Linked DNA regions of Homo sapiens: all the other regions are linked to region 7. The links are contacts of gene promoters, found by promoter capture Hi-C in blood cells and fetal thymus (Javierre and others, 2016). All regions are on one chromosome and are shown on one strand. Each heading gives the region's core, a stretch centred on a gene start or on the middle of the fragment in contact. The rest is flanking DNA. Distances are from core to core; before and after follow the strand shown.

Region 1 (3,061 bases), core at 452-2,951, 630 kb after region 7:
GGCAGCAGCTGTGCTAGGCAGAGCACTTGACCAGGAGATTTAAGACGCAGTTCTGGCTGTGTAGCCTCAGACAAGTCACATCAACTGTCTGTGACTTGGTTGCTTTCTCATTAAAAATAGGCATAAAAATAATCTTCTCTGCCTGCCTCTCAGTGGGATTACGGGAACTGACTGAGTTAACTCATATAAAAGTGATAAAAGTGTTTCATAAACTGTGAAACACTATACAAATGTCACAGAAGGATTATTAGATACAGCAGTAAGTTCTAATTCATTATTATTCAGAATTCCAGCAACTCAGCTTGTTCTTGGCTGTGTTTTATTGACAAGGCAGCATCTGATGCCCATTGAGATTCTGCTCATTAAAGCCTGGCACAGAGTGAGGCCTCCCTGTTAGCACCCCTCCCCACCCCAGCTCCTTTGTCCTGATGTTCTTACACCCTCAGTCCAACTAGGATGGATCTCAGCTACATAGAAAAATCTCTGATAGTGGTCTCACTGCCCTTGAAAAAAGCCTAACTCTCATTCTTAAAAAAAGCTTTTGGTGAAAGCTTCATTCATACAAGAATATATATATAACGTGTAAGTATAGTTTAAGGAATAACAATAAAACAAACCGCACACTAAACTTTAGAAAAAATACTACCAGTGCCTGCAAAGCTCCTATTGTTCTTCCCTGATGCATTCTCTTCACTCTCCTATCCTCGATTTTGCATTAATCTTTCTCTTGCTTTTTATTTTTTTGAGATAGGGTCTCACTCTGTCACCTAGGCTGGAGTGTAGTGGTGTGATCATAGCTCATTACACCCTTGATCTCCCGGGCTCAACTGATCCTCCCACTTCAGCCTCCCAGGTGGCTGGGACCACAGGCACATGCCACCACACCTGTTTACTTTTTTGTTTTTATTTTTAGAGATGCAGTTTCACTATGTTACCCAGGGAGGTCCCAAACTCCTGGAGTCAAGCAATCCTGCCTCAGCCTCCCAAAGTGCTGGGATTATAGGCATGAGCCACTGCATTCAGCCTCTCCTACTTTTGAGAAAGAGCTTTACCTTATAAGTATTATCCCTAGTTTTTCTTGCCTCTAAACTTTTATCAAGGGAATCATACTGTAAGTATTCTTTTATAACTTGCTTTTCACATCTGTGATCTATGTTGATGGGTACAGCTGTAGTTTATTCATTTTCATAGCTACATAGTTTCCACTATGGGACTGTGTTAGAATTTATTCCTCCTACAGCAAATGGACATTTGAGTTGTTTCCAATTTGGGACTATTTTAAACCATGCTTGTTTATTTCTCCTACTGCCTATATATGAGAGTTAATATTTATCTAGAAGTGGAATTACTGAGTCATAAGGTATGCGTGTCTTTAATTTTATCAGATAAGGCCAAACTGTTCCAAGTGGTGGTAACAATCAACTCTCCTACCAACCATGTATGAGAATTCTCATTGTTCTACATCCTTGCCCCTGCTTGATTGCCTGTGTTTTAAATTTCTGCCAGCCTCGTGGCTGTGGAATTGTATCTAATTTTTATTTTAGTTTGCATTTCCCTTATTACTAAGGAGGCTGACCATTTTTTCATATGTTGGTGGTCTTTTTGTATTTCCTTATCCCTGAAATGCCTGTTCATGTCTTTTCCCCATTGAAAAAATTAAATTGTTCATTCTTATTGATTTGTCGAAGTTTTAAAAATAGATTCTGGACAGGAATTCTTTGCCAGGTGTAGGTGTTACAGTGATCGAGTCCAGTCTCTGGATTGTCTTCTCTGTGTCATGTTTTTTTATGACTAGAAGTTCTTAATTTTAGTGAAGTCACCCTTCCTCTTTTCCTTGAACTTTTGGTGTCTTGTTTAAGAGTGATTTTTTACCCGAGGCCCTAAAAACGGTCTGGATTTTCTTCTAAAAGTTTCAACATTCCAAATGTCTTTCTTGGGACTGCTCTGCCTACTGAGCTCCTGAATCTTTCCACAAAATGCTTCTGCAAGCCAGAGGTTATTTCTATTCCAGTGGGCCTCCTCTCTGCACAGAGGGCCCCCGAGTTCTGCCAAGTGCCCAGAGAAAGGCTCCATTCACCGGGCGGGCTGCTCTCCATGGCCGTGAGTGTCCCGCGCTCTCTGCCGACCGCGGGCCCCTAGGAGGAGCCTTTGCTCCAGGCCTGGAGCTCCCTCCCCAGGCTCCTCTTGCACCCGGCTCCTGGCCGGGGAAGGGGAGCCCTTGCCTCCTGCAGACGGTGGGAGCGGCATCTCCTTTGCACCGAGCCAGGATCTCTGCATGGGGCCACCGCACTTGGGCCTCGCTAGCCTAGTCCGGCCCCTGACCCGCTGGGGCTGGGCCCCTCTTCCCATTCCTGCTCCCTCAGTCCTGCTTTCAAATCTACTGTCTTACCTCCTGCTCGGACGCCTTTCTTGGAATTCTCTTGATTCCTCCCTTGTCTTTTAGGGAGGCCCCGCAGTAACATTCTTTTATGGGTCAGATGCTGCTGAGGTTTCAACCTATCCCAAACTGTTGCAGGATGTAACTGACGAAACTGCAGGCTCCCCAAAGGATCAGACACTAGGGAGCCACAAAAGGTACAAAACCGAAGGGGGCACCGCATGTTTCAATGTTTGATTTTGCCTCACATTTCCCGCTCCACCAGTTAATAGCTGGCTCCACGGTTTCCTCTTTCTTCAGTTTCCTTATCTGGAAGACTGAGTTAATAATCACTACCTTACAGTTTTCGTAAGGATGAAGTAAGATAACTTGGGTAAGGTTCACGGTGCCTGGCACATAATAGGGACCCACAAATATTAGTTTCTCTTTGTCTTAGTTTGAGATCCCAAAATACACAGCCAGAGGCCAAGCTTAGGCACAAATGCTTTTTTGGTTGGTTTCATCTCACGGAAGCAAGAGTGGAGAACAAAGAGAAATGAGGCAGGCAGGCAGGCAGGCAGGAACCACAGATCCAGGGAGGTGTGGAGGGGCCAGAGCAGATCAGGGGCCATGCGGGGTTTCTCTGGACAGGCTGCGTGGAGACCCTGGAGGAGAGGAGAGCACTCTACCTGCCAGTGCCTGCCC
Region 2 (3,075 bases), core at 245-2,744, 810 kb after region 7:
GAGGTGGGCGGGTCGCTTGAGCTCAGGAGTTTGAGACCAGCCTGGGCAACATAAGGAGCCTATGTCTCTACCAAAAAAATACAAGTTAGCTGGGTGTGGTGGCACGCACTTATAGTCTTAGCTACTCAGGAGGCTGAGGGTGGGAGGATTGCTTGAGCCCCGGAGGCGGAAGTTGCAGTGAGCCATGATTGCGCCACTGCACTCTAGCCTGGGTGACAGAGCGAGACTGTGTCAATCAGTGAATCAATCAAAGATTTTAGCTATTTGATACAACAAAGTACTACTATCACAAATATATTAAATAAATAAACTAAAAAGTTTAATAAGCTTCCTAATTCTACGTTATGGAAGTACGTGGGAGGAAAACTAACAGCACTAAGAGTTCTCAATGTCAACATCAGGAAGTGAGAAAGTACAAAACATCATCAGTTTCTGGGTTCACGTCCATCTTACTGAAGTGGAAAATTCTTTGTTTGCATTTATTATTATGTTCCCAAGAACAAAAAAAGAAACAATTCAAATTTCAAAAATATAAATTTTGAAAAACTACTGCTAAATCACACCATCTTTCTCATTTGTTCTATCCTTTTTCGAATGTGTGTGTGAGAGAGAGAAAGGAGTATGAATACAAGTTAAATACGCCATTTTCAGAATTTTTAAAAATAGACACGCTGCTTAAAAGTTGTAGCAATGGTTATCTTAATGTTTTTTCTATAAATGGAAGATTTTCTAAAATTACAAAATATTTATGGTATCAACCTTTTAAGACAAAATTGAATTAAATTACAAAAGTTTCCATCCAAACAGAAAAAATCCTAATGTCTGTTTTAGGCAACATACAGGAGTTTCAAGCAACATACAGGAGTTTCAAGCAACATAGAGTTGTCTAAACTGTATGTTTTTGGCAAAATATGATTATATTTTAAGCAACATAACTTGGATTTTAAAAAAATTACTGCAGAAAGGGCTACCACACATGCCAATTTCTCTTTATGCAAGGCTCTGCCAGGCTGAAAGTTACTATTCATTCATGTAAGAACAAGATTAGTAAGATTAAGTGATTAAGGTCTAACTCATGAAATAAAACTATTATTTATTATTAGATTGCAATGAATATTTTGATCCAATTCCATATATTTATAAAAACTGGTATAAACTCTCCACATTTTAATCTTGGCACCAAATTCTGATAGCAAAAGTCTGAGGTAGCACTTTAAATTTAAAAGTTCAAGACCTACTTTGGCAGTGGAGATAAAGTATTGATTAAACCAAACTCCCTATATTTGAATGCAATATAGAATAAGAGAGCAATGTAAATGTATCCATATAAATGTCAGTCATAAATAAAGCATTATAATAATTCTTAAATTGTTTTAATACATCTACATAACATTTAACATTTCTCAAATTTGCTGGGAAAATTTTGAATATTCTAAAGGCTCGTAAAAGATGATTTTTGCAAATGCAAACAAACGTACCTGCTAGTACAAGTCTGTCCTACCATTTGCAAATTTCCAAAGGTCCTTTCAGAAAAGCACACATGGTTTCCCTAGGAACCTAAAGAGGCTTCTCTGAACTTCCTGGCATTCGAGCCTACAGACTGACAGCTTTAATTTCTTCCTCATGTGGTCCTACTCCTTTCCTGCCCTCATTAAAAAAGTGGACACTTGCTCCTCAGTGTAAAAAGAAAATTTTAAAAATTAAAATTAAAAAAAAAAAAAGAGGAACAATAATGTGGATCTATGTTCAGCTACAGTCCTTTGGAGCCCTAAGTTAGTGCCAGGAAAATGTTGCCATTTCAGGTGGAAACCATGAAGATGCAAGGCAGTGAAGAACAGCCCATACTCATTTTGTCACGCTGATAATTCAGGTTTTAGAACATACAAGTCCTAAACTTTAAATTCTGTATTAGAAATTGTGTTTTTTTTTGTTTTTTTTTTTTTTTTTCAAAATTAGACCCATGGCATGAAAATGCATATGGGCCAATGATGTCACTGACAGGAAAACCCAGTGCAATGTGAGGCTGAGCTGTGAAGAGTACAGTGCCCAGTCAGGGGTACTACTTAGTCTGCACTGCAGAATACCATGCTGGGTTCTGAGCACAGGCAAAAACCAGGCGCTGACAAAAAGGGTCATGTCCACTGACCAAAAAGAACAAACAGCCTTTCTTTTGGAAAGGTTTGGAAGCCACAACCATGCCTGTTGAGGTCCAGGTGAAGAAATGAGGACTGTTCATTCTTGAAAGGGAGATAATTATAACCATGCAGCAGAGACTTCATTTACCTGGTACTTGAGTAAGGCAGCGGTCAGAAGGGAGTTTTTGTTTTTGCTTGTTTGTTTTTTTTTTAGACAGGGTCTGGCTCTGTCTCCCAGAATGGAGCACAGTGGTGCAATCACGGCTCACTGCAACCTCCGCCTCCTAGATTCAAGTGATCCTCCCACCTCAACCTCCCGAGGAGCTGGGACCACTATGCCCAGTTAATTTTTGTATTTGTTGTAGAGACAGGGTTTTGCCATGTTGCCCAGGCTAGTCTCGAAATCCTCAGCTCAAGCAATTGGCCTACCTTGCTTTCCCAAAATGTCAGGGTTACAGGCATGAGCCACCAAGCCCAGCAGAGGTAGATGTGGTTACCTTAATGATATTCTACAGTTAAAGCTTAAAATTGTAGAATGGTAGTAACTGCCACATACCAGAAACATTCAAACACAGCTAGATGTCCATCTGTTAGGGATGTTGTATTACCATGGAAATTTCAGTGTTACCTTTGATATTTATTTATTCCCATGTAATATTTCCAGGTACTAATGGGAATTTCATTTTTGAAACTTTTCTAAGATATGATTTTTGCTTCTAAGCAATGGCTTCCTGGATTTCAATTCCTAATTTAAATTCCTTCATTACGAAAAGGGAATTCAGTATCTGGTATTAAAAGCAAAGAGTAACAAATACAGAAAACCTAGCATATTGGCAAGAACAAGTTAACAGAAGCCTATGAAAAGAGTTGTTGTTGAGGTTCCTCTTGGTTATATCCACGAAATTCATGGACAGCCTTAATTACTTCATTTGTACAAATG
Region 3 (3,035 bases), core at 98-2,597, 970 kb after region 7:
AAATGGAAAATTCCAGAAATAAACAATTCGTAAGCTTTAAATTGCATGCCACTCAGAGTATTGTTGTGATTGTTCTATTTTATTATTGTTGCTAATCTCTTACTATGCCTGATTTATAAACTTTATCATAGATATGTATATATAAGATAAAATATAGTATATACAGGGTTCAATATCATCCACTTTTTCAGGCATCCACTGAGGGTCTTGGAATATATCCCCAGGATAAGGAGGGACTACTGTATAAAACTTTCAGACTAATAAATCCAGTCCTAAGAGAAAAGTGGGAGTGGGTAGCCATCCTCATGACTCCAATTTATTAGTCACATTTTAAACCTTACCGTGATTTAAAAACACCTGACTCTTTATTATGTTAGATGTTTTCTCTACAATATGCATCGTTTTATGTAAATGCAATAGCATTTCATGGGATCCACTCTAACCAGTAAAACAATATTTTATTTACCAACTGGCACAGAACAAAACAACAATTTTCTGAACCCACCTTCTGACCAGACTTCTTTTCCATCTACAGAAACTCCAACCACTATGCCCGGTGCGCCCACCTCATCCTAAGACCGAAGGGGAAAGAACCGACAGTTACGGGCCTGCTGAAAAAGCCCAGCGCTCTCCTCGGGGACCTTCCAAGGCCCCGCCCCCTGAGCCTGGGCCCCGCCCCCTCCACCTGGGCCCCGCCCACCTCGTCCCAGGCCATGGTCACTCACTAACAGCAAGGGATGTGCCTGTCCGCCCCCTAGGGGGAAGGGGCGGTCCCCGAGACAGGCGGTGACCTCCACCCAGATTTGGGGAACCCCCAAGAGCGTCTGACCACGGCTCGGCGGTGGGGAAATGGGAAGTCTTTCTCGGAAGCCGATCGCGGGCACCCCGCCGCCCCGGGTGGGGTCCACTCAGCCCCCGACAGCACCGCCGACAGGGGTGGATCCCCGGCCCCCTACGCCCCCCGCTCCAGTGGCCGCACCTTGATCCTGTGCAGCAGGTCGCGGCTGCTCTCGATGGCTCTGGCGAAGCACCTGGAGCAGGGCGGCGCCGGGGTCTGCGGAGACCACGGGGCGAGGGACTGCTCCTGTGGCGGCTCGGCCAGAGGCGACGCCTCAGGGTCGGGGGCCGCGGGGGACTGCGCCGGGGCCGCGCCCCTCAGCCCACCTGCCAGCTTCACCCCGAGCGCCAGCCCCAGCCCCAGCCCGAGGCCCCCGACCCAGCCGTGGCCGAGAGGCGGCAGCCCGGCGCGCTGATGGACCCCGCGTCGTCCGCAGCTTGAGGCCAAGCCCCCGGGGGCGGCAGCCCGGGCAGTCACTGCTGACATGAGCCGGTACATGGCGTCTCTGCACAGCCGGCCGCCACCAAACTCACGCACACCCTGCCAGCCGCGGCGCGGGGCGGAGGGAAGGGCAGGGGGCGGGACGGGGGTGGGGACCGCGGTCAGACCCTAGCAGTCGACGCCTGACTACCCGAGCGCCGATCGCATCGAGCCCTTCTTCCTCTCCCTTTTCTTGTCTCTTCCTTGTTTTTCCTTTCTGTCTCTCTTTCCTTTTTTTCCTTTGCTTACCCTCAGATCAAGCGTCACCTCCCAGAAGCCTTCCTAGTTCCCGTCCCATGGGAGTTCTCGCCCTTACCATCTTGCCCCTCAGTGTGCACACTTCTTTAACAACAGTTAACACTTTGTATCATTTAACTACTTGTCAGATTCCTTACCAGAGTGGGACTTCTTTGGGGAGCCTAGACTTAGTTTTGGATCCTCAACTTCTGGAACAGCGCAGGGCACACAGTAGACGCTCAGCAGGCATCTCCTTTCCCTTTAGAGATGCCTTTCTCCTTTCCTTTCCCTTTCTCCTTTCCCCCTTTAGAACGCGCTTCTTTTCACTCTCTTGCCATCTCCCTTATGTCTCATTTCAATTCACCCATTTCCCTAAAGATGTTTTAAAATCTATTGCTTCTGGAATTCTAGCTCCACACCGTACCAAAGACATGAAGTTACATCCAGACCTTATATTACCTTTCTTTTGCTATAAAAGATAAAGTGTTTTTTAAAAATTTCGTGCTTGAAAAATTTTAATCCAAAAGTAACTATTATAATTTACAATTACCTATGATTTCTCAGCATCTGTAAATGATCAGACATTCTTGTGAAATAAGAAACCTAATCTCAAATTGCTACAAAATGTAAAATGTGTATAAAATCCTAGTTTAACGTGTAATGAAATTGATATGTTAATTTGAAGTTACTTAAACATTTATCAGTTTTGTAATTTTTATATTTTGGGATACATACATACACACACACACACACACACACACACACACAATCTTTGAAAGCTTGTAGGCTTTATACCTTCAGCACTGGGGCAATATGCCCCATATACAAAATGGCCCTGTCTTTTCTTGCAGGTGGAATAAAGAAGAGAGCTCACAGACTTGAACTGACAAGCCATCAGGACAAACATATTGAGGTAATAAACTTACTGAGTAAACATATACATACCTCAAAATAAATATATTGAGGTAATAATTATTTAATAGGAGGAAAAGGCAATAATGGTATCCATACCTAGCAAGAAAATAGTGGGGCTAAATAAGTAAAGCTTCTGGGGCTACTCACAAAACCCAAGACTCCAAGAGACCAGAATATCCTAGGACCCAGAGCGTTTGACACTGAAACTGCAGTTATAGTGGACAGATGTACTCTATTAAGATAGTACTGGAGGTTCCCACGGTGGGGGTCACCACTACTCCAAGAACATGAGAGAAAAAATATAAAGAGAAAAATGTAAAAGACGCAGTCAGTGGTGGTTATGAGTGCCCACTTTTATTTAAACTGTACATAATTTTTCTTTAAACTGTACATATGTTACTGAAACACCAAGGGTTTAGCCTAGATCCCATTGCTCGCCACACAGAAAGCCAGTCACCAAGACAATGAGTATCGCCGGGGGAAAACAAAGCTTTTTCAGGTGCTGCAGCCAGGGAAACGGGAGTTCAGTCTCAAGTCCATTTCCTCAGCTAACTAAAATTAGGGG
Region 4 (3,044 bases), core at 186-2,685, 580 kb after region 7:
ACTCGTAACCTTTGTCTCAGTTTCATAATCAATAAAATAGGAAAAACTACAAGGATGAATAATTAATTAAATTAGTCAGGATTAAATGCTAGCAAACTGCTTTGAAGTTACTTTATGTTGTTCTCAGTTATCTTCCTACTCAGTAAAACTAATAGATGAGAAAACATCTGGAATTACTATAGATAATCACATCTGCAGACTCACAGCAGTTAAAAAGACGATCTCTACAAATTTCTAAGCCAAAGTTCATTCAACGACCCCAAAGATTTTAAGATACAACCACAATGAACAATTTTAGGTGAATTTCTTTTCAGTCTCAAGGACACCTATTCTTACCTACATTCTCAAAAGAAACCACTACACAGAAATCTCAGAGCATCTTGAGGGGTCTTGGCACAAGACAATTCTAGGTAAGATGAACAAGCTGTTACTGTTGTTAATGCTATTCTCAGCATTCTAAACTGTCAATCAAGGTAAGCTTAATCACAAACACACCCTCCAAAAAGTACTAGCCCCTACTGAGAACCCATCAAAGTACTTCCTTCCAAGCCATCTGTCCAGGAAAGCTCTATTAACACACCTAGAATGCAATTGCTCTCCTGTCTAAAGAGGCAATGAATAAACATAAAATATCAAAATATGTTAAACAGCATACCTTTTCCACTTCAAACAATGATAATCTACCGACTAAATCTATTTATTTCAATGCCTTGGTTGAACACAAACCTGTATGTATGTAGGTCAGAGACTGCAGCTTAATCAAAGGAGACTAACATTTTGTTTTCAAAGAAGGAAAAATATTAAAAACAAACAAACAAGCTCAAGAAGGGGAGAAAAGCTCAAAAAGAAAAAAAACGAGCAGGTTAGGTTAGGGGAAATGTACATGTTAATCAGCTCCTGATGGAAGAGGGACTCAAATTTTAAAACAGGAATTTAAATGACTCACTGAGCTACACACTAAATTACTCACTGGTCTACTCACTGAGCTGCAAACACTATAAAAACATAAGTATTTCTAAATCTAGCTTGAAGGATCCAAAATCAATCTTTTATATTCCAGTGGAGAAGGAAATTACATACATTTCAATGAGGAAAAAGGAGGCTGTTACACGAGCCTAAGGCTAATGGTGTACAAGCAAAGAATGAGAATAAATTATTTTGAGGATAAATAACAGGAAACCACACCAAAGAGTTCGAATTCTTCCCCCAACTCCATCATTTCTTCTGCTTAGACCATGAAGGATGTTCTGTATACACTATTAAGCATATTATTAGGGAAAGAACTTCTCATCAATGTGTCAAAACTTCTTCACAACAAGTAAATGTTAGGCTCAATCTCTATACTGAAGCTTCTTTAAACAAAACACATACATGGAGCACATTCTAAATTTCACACATTTCACATCCATGAGCAATCATTTAGAGACTCTAGAAATAAGCTGAGATTGCTCTAAGATTCTGGGGGACGGGGTTGGGGAGGAATACTGCAGAAAGACTAGAAAGACATTTGACTTAAGCTTTATAAATATTACCAAAAAAGTTTAAATTCTTCAGAAGGATATATAAAACTCAAATACTACTTTTTAGAATTAATGTGAAAAAAGTATCACCTGTCCACTGATTTTTAACTACCCCATCCACATTTACAACTAAATTGTCCACCTGCCCATCTATAAATACAGACTGCCAAAAGAACACAAATTCATTGTGATAACAACACTGCAGATGGTCATTTGCTCACAATCCAGCCAACGTTTACTGACTAAAATACTGGGAGTGCGGGCTAGTGAAAGCATTCTGGGGAAAGTTCACTCTGCGTTTATTTTCAACATAAAGACCCTGCCAGACACATCTAAGTGATAGTTCCTTTATTTATCAGGCAAATATTTACTAATTGCTCTATTAAGTATTAGGCACTTAATAAAGACATCATAGAATGTTACTAAAAAGCAGTAAAAGCATTTGACCTAATGACAAGGAAATGACTGATTGTATTTAGAAAATTTAGTCCACTGGGCAAACGAGTGTTAAATGTAGGTTGTGGAGAAATACGATACAAAATAACCCATCACTCCATCAAGGTTGATTTCTTCTCTTTATCACAACCTGATCAGTCCATTACAAATTTATTACCACTGACAACCAATAATCAACACCTCATCCTACTGAATGGATCTCTTAAAAAAGGGTTTATCTCCAGTATTTTGGGTGGAATTATCTGCAGTTTTTGGTGCAAAATTGCAGAACATTTACTTGATCTACACTTACTTTTCTTGGGTAGAGTAATATGAAGGCAAGTGTGTACTGAAAACTTAAAGAGGCACTCTCAACTCATTGAAGAATTAATCAGGGAAAAATTAGCATGCCTATCCTACTAAATATCTCTAATTTAACTGGCTGTTTAACCCAAACCCTCAAGTTCAAATGCTTGGTCCTTGGCTTTCCTTAGTTATCAAAACACTTGCATTCAGGGCATCTTTTTAAACAATTTTTGTTTTTTCCCACTGGTTAAACTCTTTTACCCACAAAAATAAGGAATGCCCAAGCCTCCAACTTCTGAAAATAACATCTGGTATGTGCACATAACAAAAAGCTTGAGAGAATGCCCTTTTATTTAAAACTTTTTCATTTTAAACTAGAATCCCTTAAGCAACAATTAGACATAAATCAGCCTTTACGTTATTAGGAGATAGCTATTTTCAACATTTACCTTAAACCACATGGATGTATCTTCTAACTAGTTAGCTTCCTGTCTCTCCCCCAGCTAGATTAGACTGTTAACTTTTTTGGCAGCAAAGGACTACTAGAGCCCATGCTCTATTTCCCAGCTAATACATTTCAAAAACCTCAGGTCTCTACAGAAACATAAACGTTGGTAGCCTTAAGGATTTCTCTAATTTTTTAAAGTTATTTTGATATGAGCAGGTATCCTTAACTGTTAACTATAGCTTACACAAGTGGGTTCTCAAAGTGTGGTCCTGGACCCCTGAAAGTTTCCAGGACCCATTCAGGGGATCCAGAAGGTCAAAACAATTTTCATACAT
Region 5 (2,872 bases), core at 46-2,545, 550 kb after region 7:
GCATTTGGTTACAAAAGAAGCCTTCAAGCTATTTTCATCAGCTTCCTAATCAAGTTAAAAAATAAACCACAAAACTGAGTATCCACTACCCTCTCTATATATATTCTATATATATATGTATATATTTGTATTAATAAATTATATATACAATTAAATCTAAATTATATATTACAAAAAAGAATAATTTTTAAAGAATGAGCTAGAGATGAAATAAACTATATTAAATGTCTTGCTATTCACAATATCTTCATACTATTATTAAACTAATTTCCTTTTTTTTTTTTTTTAAAGACAGTGTCTCCCTGTGTTGCCCAGGCTGGTCTCGAACTCCTGGGCTCAAGAGATCCTCCTGTCTCAGCCTCCCAAAGTGCTAGGATTATAGGTGTGAGCCACCATGCCTGGCCATAATTTCTCAAAGTACAATATACCATAAGGTAAAGGTTTGACATTAATGACAGTGAATATAGATTCATACTTCCTATCATCTTCATGTTAATTTTTAAACATTTTGTCCAACTTATCAGGTCTTATTAGTCTGTGTTTTTATTAGATAGCCAATAATTTTATCCTGTAATATGTTTGATGAGCACAGAGTAGGAAAATGTATCCATTTGCCCTTTTCTTGTGTTTACATCATCGTCACTATCTTGCAGAATTTAAAACCTTTTAGAACATGTGTCCATGTGGCTACACATATTATATGGGACGAATAAATCCATATAACTAAGCAGATATAGAATGCAAAATGCTCAAAGTAAACAGAATGAGGACACCACAGGTGAAACTGATTTAGGAGTCTGTGTGTAACTCATGGCACACAATCATCAAATCTACAGACCTCTGGCAGCAGGTGTTAAATATTTGACAAAGGTTTCTTTTCTCCTCCCAAATAAAAAGGTACAGTGTTCTAAACGCTCTTCCCATACTGCCAGTACATTATTTTGGAGACCACTGCACTAAAAACTAGGTCCCTAGCACATAGTAGCTTCTCAAAAAATGTTACTTATTGAGTAAAATGTGTCTTTTTTTTTTAATGTTGTTCACAATATGTTTGAGGACCATCATGTAAACCACGATCTGTCCCAAGTAAACATTTTGAAGACAAAAACTGAGGGAGAAAAGGACTACTTTTTATAATATCAAGTTTTCTTCATAAGGGTCATTACCTTCACTCTGTACCTTTCTTTAACACATTTATTCCTAGGTGTAACCAATAGTTTTGTCATTCTGTTGAATATTTTTGCTTGGTCATTTCCATTTTCAACTGATGACTACTAATAAAGAGAAAGCTATTAGTTTGTGTACATTTCTCACACATCAGCTTTCCAAAGTGTCTTACATTTAATCCTCATTGCTGTTTTCTACTAGAGTCCCCCTGGGCTTTCCAGCTATTCTATTGTATCATTTCAAAGTAGAAATAATTTTTTGTTTCCAATATTTATGCCAATTATTTGACTTTCTGTCTACTGTCTTACTGCAATGGCTAGAACTACCAAAACAATGCTTAATAATAGTGACAATCATGTAAATGATGACAGGAAGTATTAGTCTCGTTTCTGATATAATGGAAATGGCTTTGGCATTTCATCATTTAGTATATGATGTTTGCTTTCTGGTTTTTGGCAAACTAGAAGAGCTTAAGTTTCTGTTTATTTCAATGTTATTAGTTTTTTAAAACGAGAAATGGCTATTTATAAATGTATATTTTGCTTCCAATGGGACAATAATTTGAGGTTTCCTTTAATAATGAATATGTTCATAGAACTCAGGTGAAATTAACTCTACTTGGTAATTATATAATTTTTCTTTTTGATAGCTTACTGGGTTAGATTTGCTTTAAGTTATAGTTATTTCCAACTACAGTATTTTATTTAGTAAAATTGGCTTATTTTGTTTTTGGAGTTTCTGTTAGATTTCTATCTTAAGGTTTTGAAAGTTTATAACATTAATATACTTAATGTTAAATTTTAATAGTTTGAGGCTGCACTGTCCAATAGTAGCTAGCAGTCACATGGTGCTATTTAAATATTAATTAAAATAAAAAACACTTAATTCTTCACACTAGCCACATTCAATTGCTCAATTGCTACCATACTGAATAACATATATGTCATACCCAAGACAGAGAAAAATCTCTACCTCTTTCTCAGCTTTAAAATTCTAAGTTTTTTTCAATTCCTGTTGTTAGTGCTATTGAAGTTACTCAAGTCATGACTTCCACATCATGTCCTTGAAGAACTAAGAAAATATTCCCAAAGCAAACCATTCTTCACTCATCTGAAACAAGGAGGAATAATCATACAAATAAAACATTTTTTATGCAACAGTAAAGAAACAAGTCCTTTAATTTACTGGCAACAAAGCTATCTTTATACAGTAAGCCATGCATAACACTAATACCAAAAATAAATAAATAAATAAAACCTCTTATGCAACAAACACCCCTGACACATGACAGATCCTTCATTAAGTTTCACCAGCTCCTTTTCATTCACTTCTAAGACATTTTGATATTTACGGGCAAATTTGACATCTGGTTTTATTATAAATGACAGTAATACTGAAAAGAAAAAGCAAGCTGATATTCTAGTGACTTCACCTATTTCAAACTGAGAAAGGTTAAAATCTAAAAGAATTTGCTTAGGAAGCAAGAGCATTTTTAAATTCTCTTACTAAACTCTGATGTATTGCCATCAAATAAGCCAATTATGGAAAATTAGAAGAATACCTGCAGAGCAAACCCATATCCTTTGTTAAAAGCAGACAAGTACCAGCTTATCTTAAGGAAGAGCCTTTTATGTTTTAAGATTATCTCTATTAGAAAGTTTCTTCTTAAACTTCAAAATATTGTTTTTAAATAAACAAAACTCTC
Region 6 (2,940 bases), core at 225-2,724, 660 kb after region 7:
CAGAACAAGTTCATACAACTCACAGGACAAGTAGCTAGAGATGATATCGCTGTTGGTCCTGTGGCTGTAAAAATACATCATGGTCTTAAAATCTGTAGCAACTGTGTCTTAAAAGGCACCAGTGTGAGAATATTCATCTGCGTAGTATTCTTTTTTTTTCCAAAAAAAAATTTTTAAATTTAAAGTTCTGGGATACATGTGCAGAATGTACAGGTTTGTTACATGGGTAAATGTGTGCCATGGTGGTTTGCTGCACCCATCAACCCGTCACCTATGTATTAAGCCCTGAATGCATTAGCTATTTATCCTGTTGCTCTCCCTCCCCCTGCCCCCACCCCACAGGCCCCAGTGTGTGTTGTTCCCCACCATGCATCCGTGTGTTCTCATTGTTCAGCTCCCACTTACAAGTAAGCACATGCGGTGTTTGGTTTTCTGTTCCCGTGTTAGTTTGCTGAGATTATTTATTTATTTGAGACAGCATCTCACTCTGTTGCCCAGGCTGGAGTGCAGTGGTACTCAGCACAACCTCAGCTCACTGCAACCTCCGCCTCCCAGGTTCAAGCGATTCTCCTGCCTCAGCCTCCTGAGTAGCTGTGACTACAAGTGCATGCTACCACGCCTGGCTACTTTTTGTATTTTTAGTAGAGACAGGGTTTCACCATGTTGGCCAGGCTGGTCTTGAACTCCTGGCCTCAAGTGATCCTCCCACCTCGGTTTCCCAAAGTGCTGGGATTATAGATGTGAGCCACCGCACCTGGCCCCATTTCATTTATTTTTGAATCACTGTATCTTTTTATTCCCATTTCCCCTGATATCTCTCCCTTAAGCTGATCACAATTAAAAAACAAGGTTAAAACAATAATTCAAGCTTCATTGTTTTAATTTGTGTTTATTGAAAGAGTTTTAAATACCCTGCTCTTATTTTTAAATTGGATGGATAGAATATTTTGTGAATGGTGAAGCCATCAAGCAACAAAATTTATTTTTGACTAACACACCAGAGTTTTTACATCAGAATGTTTTGAAACTACTTGGAGAGAATTCTTTCTCAGATCCTCAATGAGAGCAAGATCTTCCTTTGGGGGAAGATTTTTAGAAACAGCCAAAAATGAGTAAAATCTCTGAGGCTTTAACAGCTATCCTTAGCATTCTCTAACAAGGTTTACACTTTTCTTTCCTAGTGCCTTGGGCAAGCTCCCTTGGGTTCCACCCTCCAATACCCTCCCAAGTATACCTGCTCGGTGACAGGATCTGGGGACAGGGCAGTTACTCTAGGTTCTTCTGTTCATAGGGCCTGCCCTGGCCCTCCTCTAGCCCTACCCTTCTCCATGGGTCAAGGATCTCATGGGCCCAAGTGGCTCTGTCCCACTAGACCCTCCTTGAGGCTCCAGAAACTCCCAAGTTTCCTGCCCAAGAGTCCCCAAATGCATTTTCAGGGCCCGTGTGGCCTCTCCTTCCATCTCTCCAGCCAAGGGCAGACTGCCCTGCTGCTGTGCTTACCCTTGGCCAAGGGGGGAAAGGGCAGCTGTTTGTGGGGGGCTGGGGTATCGAGGGGCATTCACCCAAGATCCCTCGTGGTGTGAGACAGAGCTGGGAGTGAAAGAAAATGGGGGAGGGGAGACCTCGAGGTTGGGGGCCCTCCCCTAATGCTGTATTTTGACTTGGAACTTTAAGGAGTGTGAAAATTCTAAATCTGAACCTGGCATTCCATCTCGTTATGAAAGTATTTGTCAAGCTAGGAGGATAGAACATATTTGATTTCATGTTATGTTAGCTTGATTTATAAGTTTAAATACTGAGGCATGTGGTCCGTGGCCTCTGTTTATACTCTTGCCCTGCATGGGTTAAGAGGCCTGAGCTGGGGCAGGCCGGTTGCTCTGGCCTGGTGTCTGCCTCCCAGCTTGGAAGACCCCATCTTCACCCCAGATCCCAGCTTTTAGCTCCCCCTTGGTGTCCTATTACTGGGCTCAGGGCCAGCCTCTTTCACCCCTCCAGCCAACCCTGGTTCTGAGAGCCCTGGGAAGGGAATTTCAACAATTGGGAACCAAACCTGGTGAATCAGGCTGGGACTCAAGCTTTTGTTTTGTTTGCTTGTGTTTGTTTCAAGATGTGGGAGGCCATGAAAGAGGAGGGCTGCTTTCTTCTGTGGCAGGCTGTCTCTTCCGGCAGCTCCACAAGAGATCTGGGGAGTTGGCAGCAGGCCAGTTGCAGGAAGTAGACGGTAGTTGGAGCTCTACTGAAACAGAGAGATCAGATGTGTCAGACAGGGAGACAGTGGAGCCCAGATTCAGGGCAAGACTGTGAGTGAAGCCTGCAAAGCCATACCAGAGCTAGATCCAGGAGGAATGACTGAGCGCTGGTCTGTAGGGGACAGCAGAACCCCCTAGAAGTGTGTTTCTCAACACTCCTCTCACGGAGAGCACTGTGAGGCATCAGGAGGAGGTCTTAGTCCAGGGTGGGAGTGTAAGACCCCCAGGGGCATGTTGATGACAGCAGAGTTTGTGCAATGCCTCCTGGGATGGTGGGCTGAGTGACTGCAGGACTTCCTTCTGTTTGGGGCCCTGTTCTCTTCTGGACTCACTGCAGGCTCTGAGATGGAGTGTCTGATGGCACCATGAGTGATGAGTAGACCAGGGTATATGTAACAAGGCACTAAAGCAGAGGGCATGCTTCAACTGGCAGAGGTCCTGTTCATGGTCCAGCCCTCCAGCAGCTGTCCTGACTGGCCTCTTCCTTGCCAGAACTCTCATGGCCAATGAGTCCGGACTTCATATTTCTCCACTTACTAAATCTACAGATGTGTACCCTGTCCCTCTACATGATAGGTCCCTCTACATTATCCCGGTAGCAGTGATAAGGCCTGACATTCTAGTGGGGTAGACAGACAAGAAATGTTACTGGCGGCGAATCTGTACAGGTCTGCAGCAACCTCAGTTCTTG
Region 7 (2,948 bases), core at 423-2,922:
ATACAGATACTGAGCATCTACTGTATGCCTGGCACCTTGCTGTGAGTTTCAGATACAGAAATCAGGTATTTAATCGACAGTTCGACATGTTCAATGCTATGGTGCCCTGTGGGAGCACAGGGAAAGAGATAATCAATTCTGCTTGGAGAAGTAGGGAGGCCTCACAGATGAAGTGAGGCCTCAGTGTCCTAGATTTGGCTGGAAAAATGTTAGGATTATCCTCTCAATTGCTGTGGAGTAAGTGGAGTGGAATAGACGGCAGGGAAATTATTGAACCCTGACCAAAATTTCCTTGGGACCTAAGCAATTCATTGTCTGGTGATCCTAAGGCCTACATTAACTAGACAAACAAGACTGGAGTTTAAAGATAAATGGGCATGTTAGCATGGGACAATTCTGCAAGATAATCCTATCTTCTCAATAGAAATGGCATTTGTCACCAACTTTGACAAGAGGTTTAGTTAGTTTGGTTGTAACTGCAAATTCAGGGATGGACTCCCTCACAGGTCATGTGAGCTGTTTGAAGGCGGGGGCAGCGTTTTATCTTTGTATCTTCCATGCCTATGGATCACCTATGGCAAATTAGTACCTACAAATTTGATCGGAGGGATGGATGGATAAAATAAAATCGATTTTGTTACTGGCATCCATCACACCCACGAACACCAGAGGGCTTAAGATACACTTTTTTTTTTTTTTTTTTTTTTGAGGGAAGTCTCGCTCTTCTCCCCCAGGCTTGAGTGCAATGGCTCGATCTTGGTTCACTGCAACCTCTGCCTCCTGAGTTCAAACGATTCTCCTGCCTCTGCCTCCCAAGTAGCTGGGATTAAGGCCCCTGCCACCACGCCCAGCTAATTTTTGTATTTTTTAGTAGAGACGGGGTTTGCCCATGTTGGCCAGGCTGGTCTCGAACTCCTGACCTCAGGTGATCCGCCCGCCTCGGCCTCCCAAAGTGCTGGGATTATAGGCGTGAGCCATCGCGCCCGGCCAAGATACACTTTTAAGGATGGCGATCTCCATTATGTCACCACTGTACACATTAGACACGGGAAAACTTATGTTCTAAGTTGTCTTTGGAGGCCATTAGCAGAAATATTCGTTCAAAGGTGGGAAGCTGTGCTGGACTGAGTCCCTTAGGAGACGAGAAAGCCAAAAAGCCCTCCCCATGCCATACCTGACTACCTCACTGGCTTCCCATGACATCCCTTTTCACAGCAACTGAAACCTACTTCCTGTCCGATCAGGAAGTAAGAAAGACGTTGGCTGTCAGCGGATCCCGCGGAGAAATAATTGTAAAGAGTCTCCGTGCTGGAGAACTCAAGATCTCCTTTCCCCTACCCCTTCAGGATTCATCTTTAACTTATCACGGATACTGAGTGAGTCAGTCGCGGTTAACAGACCGTTACATCCACTTCTACCAGGCGGACACTACAAGTCCCAGAATACAATTCGCTGCCTTCCGAAGAAAATAGCTCACGCATCCCAGCATGCAATGTGCTGACGAGCCGCGAAGATTGTTTTTGTCCCGCCGAAATCGAGCAAAGCACGCTGGAACTTGTAGTCCTTGAGGCCCCTTCCCTAGGTCCTTCGAGCTACTCCGTCTGGCCCCGCCTTTTCTCTGCTCTCCTGAACCTTTAGGCTTGTCTCGGCCCATTTGAAGACCAGGAAGTTGATCAATCCCGAGGCTGCTGAGAGACGGTGGCGCGATTGGGACAGTCGCCAGGGATGGCTGAGCGTGAAGATGCAGCGGGTGTCCGGGCTGCTCTCCTGGACGCTGAGCAGAGTCCTGTGGCTCTCCGGCCTCTCTGAGCCGGGAGCTGCCCGGCAGCCCCGGATCATGGAAGAGAAAGCGCTAGAAGTTTATGGTAATTAATTTTACCCAGCACAGCATTTGGCGTTATAGGTGCAGGCCGGAGCTGAGGGGTGCGGGGATGATGGCCTCACCTGAGGGCTGGGAGGGGAGACCTTTTTTTTTGTTTGTTTGTTTGTTTGTTTTTGGCCAGATCTTGTCCGGGGCGTAGCAGGCGCTTTCTTCGGGGTCCTAAGTCACGTGGGGGGTGTGGGTCTTTCTGGGAACTGGGCTCTTCGTAAACCTGGGGCAAGCCGAACCCAGAGGTCTTAAAAGCTTCATTCTCCACGTGTGGCCTACGTCTTAGTAACCATTCCAAGACTTGTGGGGAGACCACAAGTCTAGGGTGCCTGGTTAGGAAGCAAAGCTGGCCTGATTGCACTACTAGAGCCTCGTTCTCTAGCTCCTGGACACGCACTCTTGCTACCGCTGAGGGCGCTTGTGGGTGACAGTCGAGTTGGGGACTGGCCCAAGGTCACAGCCACTCTATCCGGCAAAGTCAGTAAGCAGAGGTCCCCGAAAGAAGAGAACGAGATTGGCTTCTTGTAGCAAGGCCTTGTGTACACACACATAACGCACACACACACATACACACTCTTCCATGTTGCATATTAAATATTTTCTGTTTAACCCTTGGGGCCATCTTTATTGTACAAATGAGGAAACAAAGGTTAAAGAACTACCTGGAGGTCACACTGCCAGTAAGGAACAGAGCCAAAAAGCAAAGGCTGTGCCTACTGGTTCTAACCGTAATGCACTTTCCACCACTTCACAATTGCCTTACAACTTTTTGTTTGTTTGTTTTTTTAATTATGTTGTATTGTTTTTGAAAACCGAAAAGACTGGATATAATATTGAGAGATCTAACCATAGAATACAAATATAATTCAAGTAAGGATTATAGGCCAGTAGAAGGAAGCCAGGGTTAGGAAATACTCTGGGAGCTAATTTGGTTGACCTCTCTTACTAGAGGCAGGACTTACCTAATCAGCCTCCAGGCAGATGATAATTGTGAGTAAAATGATCTCCACAAAGCAGACCACATCCCTGTCCTGCCAGATCTCTGTCCACATAATCTAGGGATGGTAGGGCACTGGAG

What was found. Contacts are between HindIII fragments. The CHiCAGO score rates a contact against its expected background, and 5 or more counts as called.
Region 1: a fragment that was not itself captured here is called in contact with the fragment with the promoter of CIAO2A in region 7 in 1 of 17 cell types (naive B cells); the score reaches 5.5 in naive B cells.
Region 2: a contact is called between a fragment that was not itself captured here and the fragment with the promoter of CIAO2A in region 7, in 1 of 17 cell types (fetal thymus). The highest score is 5.7, in fetal thymus.
Region 3: a contact is called between the fragment with the promoter of LACTB here and the fragment with the promoter of CIAO2A in region 7, in 5 of 17 cell types (fetal thymus, non-activated CD4 T cells, total CD8 T cells and 2 more). The highest score is 10.5, in fetal thymus.
Region 4: a contact is called between a fragment that was not itself captured here and the fragment with the promoter of CIAO2A in region 7, in 6 of 17 cell types (fetal thymus, naive B cells, total CD8 T cells and 3 more). The highest score is 8.8, in fetal thymus.
Region 5: a fragment that was not itself captured here is called in contact with the fragment with the promoter of CIAO2A in region 7 in 1 of 17 cell types (total B cells); the score reaches 5.4 in total B cells.
Region 6: a fragment that was not itself captured here is called in contact with the fragment with the promoter of CIAO2A in region 7 in 1 of 17 cell types (fetal thymus); the score reaches 5.5 in fetal thymus.

The regions. Positions count from the first base shown.
Region 1 is chr15:63,460,551-63,463,611 of GRCh38, reverse strand. No RefSeq gene overlaps it. Among named protein-coding and RNA genes, the nearest start is that of USP3, 43 kb to the left of the region's middle. The HindIII fragment of the contact is 2,296 bases long and covers 554-2,849 here.
Region 2 is chr15:63,280,407-63,283,481 of GRCh38, reverse strand. The region is part of intron 2 of APH1B (aph-1B gamma-secretase subunit); the gene reads right to left. Among named protein-coding and RNA genes, the nearest start is that of APH1B, 4.3 kb to the right of the region's middle. The HindIII fragment of the contact is 2,329 bases long and covers 330-2,658 here.
Region 3 is chr15:63,120,173-63,123,207 of GRCh38, reverse strand. LACTB (lactamase beta) reads right to left here and starts at 1,347. Exons shown (of 6, transcript NM_032857.5): 1 at 980-1,347; 2 at 506-572. The coding sequence starts at 1,336. LOC107984798 (a long non-coding RNA gene) reads left to right here and starts at 1,441. Exons shown (of 2, transcript XR_001751584.1): 1 at 1,441-2,468. RefSeq lists silencers at 589-778, 789-858, 879-1,458. The HindIII fragment of the contact is 2,300 bases long and covers 37-2,336 here.
Region 4 is chr15:63,508,141-63,511,184 of GRCh38, reverse strand. The region is part of intron 1 of USP3 (ubiquitin specific peptidase 3); the gene reads right to left. Among named protein-coding and RNA genes, the nearest start is that of USP3, 5.1 kb to the right of the region's middle. The HindIII fragment of the contact is 168 bases long and covers 1,352-1,519 here.
Region 5 is chr15:63,541,460-63,544,331 of GRCh38, reverse strand. All of the region lies in intron 3 of USP3 (ubiquitin specific peptidase 3), which reads right to left. Among named protein-coding and RNA genes, the nearest start is that of USP3, 38 kb to the right of the region's middle. The HindIII fragment of the contact is 3,441 bases long and covers 1-2,872 here.
Region 6 is chr15:63,436,256-63,439,195 of GRCh38, reverse strand. LINC02568 (long intergenic non-protein coding RNA 2568) reads right to left here. Exons shown (of 7, transcript NR_120375.1): 7 at 1,660-2,233. Among named protein-coding and RNA genes, the nearest start is that of LINC02568, 47 kb to the right of the region's middle. The HindIII fragment of the contact is 1,207 bases long and covers 871-2,077 here.
Region 7 is chr15:64,092,562-64,095,509 of GRCh38, reverse strand. It overlaps CIAO2A (cytosolic iron-sulfur assembly component 2A), which reads left to right and starts at 1,672. Exons shown (of 5, transcript NM_032231.7): 1 at 1,672-1,865. The coding sequence starts at 1,742. RefSeq lists enhancers at 1,260-1,989, 2,350-2,399, 2,035-2,597. The HindIII fragment of the contact is 2,171 bases long and covers 1-2,127 here.